2 separate regions of the Homo sapiens genome follow, and region 2 is linked to region 1. Evidence: promoter capture Hi-C in 16 types of primary human blood cells and fetal thymus (Javierre and others, 2016). All regions are on one chromosome and are shown on one strand. The core of a region is centred on a gene start or on the middle of the fragment in contact, and the rest is flanking DNA. Distances in the headings are between cores, read along the strand shown. Region 1 holds the start of FAM171A1 (family with sequence similarity 171 member A1). Region 2 overlaps MEIG1 (meiosis/spermiogenesis associated 1).

Region 1 (3,670 bases), core at 529-3,028:
TCTTTTTTTGGTACGGTGCCTGCCATGTCTAAATGCTCAATTAATGAAATTACAGTAATAACCCTCCTTCTGGCCTGGTGTTCTGGAAGCAGTGTGGGGTGGATGATGGGTCTGGAGTGGATTTTCCTAGGTCCCCAGTGGAAGTCGGAAGGTCACCGCAGTGCTAGTTGGAAGAGAAGGTGGAGAGGGACAAGTGGAGGTGAAGGTTGTGTGGAAGGCATACCGACAGGAGTGGGTTGAGAGAAAGAAAAGTTGAGGTTGGAATGGAGGGGGTCCCTAGGCTCAAGGAAAGTCTAGAGGTTTGGTTTTGTTTTGTGTGTGGTTTTTTTGGTGGTTTTATTTTTTGATTTTTTTTTTTTTTTTTTTTTGAGACGGGGTCTCAGTCTGTCATCCAGGCTGGAGTGCAGTGGCACGATCTTGGCTCACTGCAACCTCCCCACTCCCAGGTTCAAGCGATCCTCCCACCTCAGCCTCCTGAGTAGTTGGGACCACAGGCATGGGCCACTATGCCTGGTTAATTTTTTTGTATTTTTGGTAGAGACAGGGTTTCACCATGTTGGCCCAGCTGGTCTCTTAACTCCTGAACTCAGGCCATCCACCTACCTCAGCCTCCCAAAGTGTTGGGATTATAGGCATGAACCATCACACCCAGCCAAGTCTGGAGGTTTTTGTGAAGAGTTTCAATTTTGGGGTCAGACTGACTGTTTTATTAGAATTTTGGCTCTGCCACTGACCAGGTATGCACTTTTGGACAAATTCCTTAACCCTCTTTAGCCTCTTTTCTCATCTGTGAATGGGGGGGATAATGCTAACTACCTCTTAGATCATGTATTGTGAAGATGGACAAAGAGTCTCTGCTTGACCGAACTACAGTCAGGCTCCGGAACCTTCTTCTAGGCTCAGTTGTGCCCTTCCTTGTAAAATCTGCTTTCAGGAAGAACCCTGCTAAGTCAGTTTACCAAGAACCCTCCACCCTGGATATCTGATCAGCTTCCCCATCCGCCCTGTCCTGCCCAGCCCTGCCAGGGGATGTCTGACTTTCAAGAATCCCCCTTCCCCCTGATGTTTCCTCTTATAATTTTTCATTCCCTGCATCCCACCCTGGTCCTCGGTTATAAATCCCCACTTGTTCCTGCTGTATTCAGAGTTGAACCCAACCTTTCTCCCCGACTGCAGAATCCCATGGTAGGGCTTATACCTATTGCGATGGTTCCAAAGAGGGTCTTCTTTGCTGTGCTTTCACACGTGTCATGGAATAGTCTTTTTTCTTTAATAGGACAGAAAGTTTTAAAGCACCTAGGGCCTCAAAAGATGTGGATTTCCTCCCCACCCTAACCCCTAGAACCATCCAAGTACCATTCCTCCTGAAGCTGTCCACCCGCCAACACGTAGGTACTGCAGGCCTACTGCAGTCTATACTGGCTTGGGGAGTGTTTTTGCGGATCTTTAACACTGGGTGTGAAATCTACGTTGGGGGACACAACTACATTAGGATGGCACCTGGTGGGGGGGTCACACCCAGATACAATGTCTCCTGCGGCCCCTTGGGTGACCTGGTGTGATGAAAAGGGCTCCGCCCTGAAAGGCAGGTCTGGCTCTTCTGCGGGGCTGCGGGGATGGGGCGCGCCGGGGCAGTGTCGCCGGGGGTCGGGCTGGGGGCGCGACGCAGCGGCGCCGGGCGGGGGCGCCCTCGGCGCCGCAGCCGCCAGGTGGCACCACGGGCCCGGGGCCTGGGCGCGGGCAGCGGCGGCGGCGGCGGGCGAGGCAGGAAGGGGTTAAGGAGCTGGCGGAGCAGCAGCAGCCGCCGCCGCCGCCGCCGCCGCGGCTCTTCGGGGAAACCCGGCGCGGGGCGCGGGAGGGAGCGGCCGGGGCGGCGGGGCCGGGCCAATCGGGCGGCGGGCCCGGCGCGCGGAGCCAGCGACATGGAGGGGGGCGCGGCGCCCGGCCGCCCGTGACGCGCCGCCGCCCGGCCCGCTCTCGGCGAGCCCGAGCCGCCGCCGGCCCCGCGGCGGAGATGAGCAGGTCCGCGACGCTGCTGCTGTGCCTGCTGGGCTGCCACGTCTGGAAGGCGGTGACCAAGACGCTGCGGGAGCCCGGCGCCGGAGCCCAAGGTCAGTGGGCGGCGGCGGGGCCGGGGGCTTTGTGTCGCGCCGGGCCTGGCGCGGAGGCGGCGGCGGCGGCGGCGGCGGCGGGAGGGTCCCGGGCCGCGTGGTGGCGACGCAGCCCGAGCCGCATCGGGAGCCTCCGGGCCTGCAGCACCCGCAACGCGCTCCCGAGGGGGCGGCGCGGGCCGGCGACGCGGGGTGACCCGGGCGGAGGCTTCGGGGGCCGGGGATCGGGGGCTGGGTCGGGCGGGGGCGCGGGCAGCTCCAGCTGCTGTCGCCGCTGCGGCGGGGGCTCGTCTGGATGCGCCCGGGGGTCCCCTTTATGCCGCGCCTCGGACACGCGGCTCTGTCTCCCATGTCGCCGCGGACAGAGGGGCCGCCCAGGGCGCGCCGCCCGATCGCGCTCCCGGCTCCCCACGCCGGGCTCGGGTCTGGGAAGTCCCAGCTCCTGGGCTGCGCTGGGGCCTTTTGTTGTGGCGGGAGGGGGTGGCTGACGCCCCGGGGTGCCCCCTGTGTCCCGGGGCCCCGAGGTCCGCTGCCGCCACTAGCCACTAGCCTGCCGCAGTTTGGGAAAGTTTGGGGGGTTCTCTCCCCCTGCCTATCTGACGTCTCTTCCAGACCATAAGGGATTTGCTCAGCGGCCCATGAGTCTTCTCTGTAAGGGAAGAAAGAATTGAACTGGGAGGCCCTCATCGCTCACCAAAAAAAAAAAAAAAAAAAAGAAAAATCCTTTCCAGATCAGTTTGTCGCCAGCTCGTGCCTTTTGTCTCGTCTTTGGCCTCCACAAATCTGCTTTCCAGCCCTGGGAGTAACGTGGTCGCCTCTGAGAATGGCCACGAGCCTGTCTTTTGTTTTTAAAATCAGCGTTTTTTGAGGGGAGTCCCCCACACCCACCCTGAGGCTTGCTTGGCACATTTTTGTGGGGACAGCGTCGAGGACTCCTCTGTTGCTGGCGTTTTCAAAAGGGCCACTGAGGCCCGCAGATGAGCCTCTGCATTCACCCAGGGCACCGCTGCCTGGACTCTTGCCGGGGGCTCAGGTCTCTGCGAGGGAGCTCCCTGCAGCCCTGCAGAACCCCGGGATTCCGAGCCCGAGGCCTGTCCCCTCAGAAGGGTGTGTGTCCTGCAAAGTTGGCCCTGCAGGCCAAAGAAACGAGGAGTGCTGCATCCGAGGGTCTCCTTGCTGGAACCCCCTTTCCTCGGCTAACATGCTCAGGGTGCCTGGGAGCAGAGACGCCCGGGCTTCCACCACGATGTTGCTACGGGGAGGAAAGGCTCTGCCAACACTCTGTTGGGTTGAGTTTGTTGCCTACATGTTGAGTTGAAGGTTTTCATATTCTGGCACTTGCAGTATCATTTCCTGGTATATCTTAAATGCATTGCTGCTTCTATGGCCATGGTAGAATATGACCGTTATGAATTGTGTATAATTTTAGTAATGCATATCATGGAAGAGCGGACAGCTACAAAATACAAAAAGACCTATATGTCTCTTCGTGTAGGAAACGAATGTTTAGGACATTAGATCATCAGTGTTGCATTGCAGCTTCTTTTATTAATACCCTA
Region 2 (3,670 bases), core at 686-3,185, 400 kb after region 1:
CTTGTTACTTATTTTAGAATCTAAGATGATGAGATTAATAAAAGGTATCATTTACTAAACACTTGCTGTTCCTTCAGTCAACAAATTTTTTGTGGGGGAGTCTCGCTCTGTCGCCCAGGCTGGAGTGCAGTGGCATGATCTCAGCTTACTGTAACCTCCCCCTCCCGGGTTCAAGTGATTCTCCTGCCTCAGCCTCCCTAGTAGCTGGGATTACATGTGTGCACCACCATGCCCGGCTAATTTTGTGTATTTTTAGTAGAGACAGGGTTTCACCATGTTGGCCAGGCTGGTCTCTAACTCCTGACTGCAGGTGAACGGCCCGCCTCTGCCTCCCAAAGTGCTAGGATTACAGGCGTGAGCCACTGTGCCCAGCCCAACAAATTATGAGCACTATAATGTCAGGCACTTCAAACATGTGATTACATTTAATTCTTGTGACAACTTTCTTTTCTTTTTTCCTTTTTTCTTTTTTTTTTTTTGAGACAGGGTCTTGCTCTCTCACCCAGGCTGGTGTGCAGTGATGTGATCACAGGTCACTGCAGCCTCGATCTCCTGCACTCAAGCAATCCTCCCACCTGAGCCTCCCAGTAGCTGGGACTACAGAGACACTCCACCATGCCTGGCTAATTAAAAAAAGTTTTTTGTAGAAATGGGTTCTCACTATGTCACCCAGACTGGTCTCAAAATCCTGGCCTCAAGCAATCCTTCACCCTCAGCCTCCCAAAGCACTGGGCTTAGAGGCGTAAGCCACCACAGCTGGCCGCCTATGAGTCTGAGGCTTGTGTATCTTTAGGGGCATCCCAATCTTAAGGCAGGGTATGAAACTTATTTTATTTATTTATTTATTTGAGATGGAGTTTCACTCTTGTTGCCCAGGCTGGAGTGCAATGGCGTGATCTCGGCTCACTACAACCTCCACCTCCTGGTTTCAAGTGATTCTCCTGCCTCGGCCTCCCGAATAGCTAGGATTACAGGCATGTGCCACCATGCCTGGCAAGTTTTGTATTTTTAGCAGAGATAGGGTTTCTCCATATTGGTCAGGCTGGTCTCAAACTCCCAACCTCAGATGATCCACCTGCCTCGGCCTCCCAAACTGCTGGGATTACAGGTGTGAGCCAACACGCCCAGCCCAAAGCTTATTTTAAACAGCATAAAAATGATAATGCTTCTGTTTTTTCTGTTTAAAAGCCATAGATGATATAGTAATGAAAATTATCCTTGGCAATGGGGATAGAGTATAATGGTTGAGAAGACAGATACATGGAAGTCACAGTAATCAATCTTCACTTGATCAGTATTTTAAATTCTATTGTTAACCACAATAATGTCATTAAATTAATGTCTATTAAAGAGGTAATAACATGATAGTTCCGTATTGCCTCCATTATTTTTCCTATGTACTTTTAAAATTTTAATTTAATTAATTAATTTATTTATTTGAGATGGGGTTTCGCTTTGTTGCCCAGGCTGTAGTGTAATGGTGTGATCTCAGCTAACTGCAACCTCTGCCTCCTGGGCTCAAGTGATTCTCCTGCCTCAGCCTCCCAAGTAGTTGGGACTACAGGTGCATGCCACCATGCCCGGCTAATTTTTGTATTTTTAGTAGAGACAGGGTTTCACCATGTTGGCTAGGCTGGTCTCAAACTCATTACCTCAAGTGATCTGCCTACCTCGGCCTCCCAAAGGGCTGGGATTGCAGGCGTGAGCCACCACTCCCAGCCTCCTATGTACTTTTAAAGGAATTTTTAAGTAGAGGTCAAAGAATAGAATAAAAGAAAAAGAAGAGCTTATAGTGATCTGCAAAATCTACACATTAGAATCTGAAAAATGATGAGTTAGTAAAAAATAAAAATAAACAACTGAGTTAATAAACACTGTTATAATCCCAAATCTAAAAATTAAAATATATTTATGAATACTATGTCATATTTTACAATACAGTTGACCCTTGACCAATGCAAGTTTGAACTTGGGGAGTCCATATATACATGGATTGTTTTCAAAAAATTTGTTGAAATTTTTTTTGAGATTTGCAACGATTTGAAAAAAGTTGCAAACCACACAGACTATAAATATCAAAAATAATTAAGAAAAGGTTTGTCATGAATGCATAAAATATATCAAGATATTAGTGTATTCCTGGGTTGATCAATTATTCACCTTATGGGCAAGAGTTTCTGTTAACACTAGGTTACTAGTAGTTGTTTTGGGGAGTCAAAAGTTATACACAAATTTTTGACGGCATGAAGCATTGAAGCCCCTAGTCCCTGTGTTGTTCAGGGGTGAACTGAATTTGTAAAAACACGTCTCTTAAGAATCACTTGAACCCGGGAGGTGGAGGTTGCACTGAGCCGAGATTGCGCCAGTGCACTCCAGCCTGGGTGACAGAGTGAGACTCTGTCTCAAAAAAAAAAAAAAAAAATATCTTAGTAGCCAAGAGAATAAATAAGTTAAGAAGAACCACACTGTATAAACGGGAGCCAAATCTAGACTTTGGTCTAGCCTTCATAAAGCAAAGCTAGGTCTCTACCCTCTCAGGAAAGCCTGGGATATACTATCAAAGTCACGAGTTGTTCTAACACTTTTGTTTGTAAGGTATAATTGCCCCAAAAACCACAGGATTTTAACCTCTTTCTAATTCATGGTTAAAATAAAAAGTAACAGGAGGGAAATAATAGTTACCCAACATACTGATTATCTGATAATGAAATCACCTGAGTGAGGAAAAAAGCTTTTTTTTTGTGGTCTACCGCAAAAGATTCATTTAGCAGAGCACAGTTGCTCAATAAAAGAGAAAATTCTGAATGTGCCCAGCTAAACGACCACCTCTTCTCCCACTCTGCCTGCAAATCATTCTTCTGGGCCTCTCCCCGTTAATAAGATGAGAGAGTCTGGCTGGGCGTCCTGGCTATTGCCTGTAATCCTAGCACTCTGGAAGGCTTAGGCGCGTGGATCACTTGAGGTCAGGAGTTCAAGACCAGCCTGGCCAAACACGGCAAAATCCCGTCTCTACAAAAATACAAAAATTAGCCAGGCGTGGTGGTGCACGCCTGTGATCCCAGCTACTCACGAGGCTGAGGCAAGAGAATCCCTTGAATCCGGGAGGTGGAGTGTGCCGAGATTGCGTCACTGCACTCCAGCCTGGGTGACAGAATGAGACTCTGTCTCAAAAAATAAAATAAAAGTAAATAAAAGAAAACAAATAAAATGAGAGAGTTGGAGTCGAATTTCCTTCAGTTATTCTCTGGTTGTTTATAAAATACTTTTCAGCATCTGAGAAATACATTTCGAGTTGAGGTTTGTAGAGACAGAAATCTTACCATAGAAACTTGTTTCACTTGTCTATATTCGGTTTCATCCCGATATCCTGCTTGTTGAAATCTGTACAGATTTTCTATCTCTTCTGACCATTTTTTGGCATGACTTACTGATTTTGGTTTTACGTCAGAACTAGCCATGGTTACAGAGGCCTTATTATCAATAATATCTGAAAGATGTTAAAACAACATTAATGGATAATGTAATAGTGACAATTTTGAAATTCCCTTTAAGAATAAACAAAACTGGCCGGGTGCGGTGGCTCACACCTGTAATCCCAGCACTTTGGGAGGCTGAGGCAGGTGGATCATGAGGTCAGGAGTTTGAGACCAGCCTGGCCAACATGGTGAAA

Evidence for each region. Contacts are between HindIII fragments. The CHiCAGO score rates a contact against its expected background, and 5 or more counts as called.
Region 2: a fragment that was not itself captured here is called in contact with the fragment with the promoter of FAM171A1 in region 1 in 1 of 17 cell types (naive CD4 T cells); the score reaches 5.4 in naive CD4 T cells.

Annotation. Positions count from the first base shown.
Region 1 is chr10:15,369,397-15,373,066 of GRCh38, reverse strand. FAM171A1 (family with sequence similarity 171 member A1) reads left to right here and starts at 1,778. Exons shown (of 8, transcript NM_001010924.2): 1 at 1,778-2,111. The coding sequence starts at 2,015. RefSeq lists silencers at 1,732-1,781, 1,792-2,021. The HindIII fragment of the contact is 10,313 bases long and covers 1-3,670 here.
Region 2 is chr10:14,966,257-14,969,926 of GRCh38, reverse strand. It overlaps MEIG1 (meiosis/spermiogenesis associated 1), which reads right to left. Exons shown (of 3, transcript NM_001080836.3): 2 at 3,321-3,487. The coding sequence starts at 3,458. Among named protein-coding and RNA genes, the nearest start is that of MEIG1, 8.7 kb to the right of the region's middle. The HindIII fragment of the contact is 1,596 bases long and covers 1,138-2,733 here.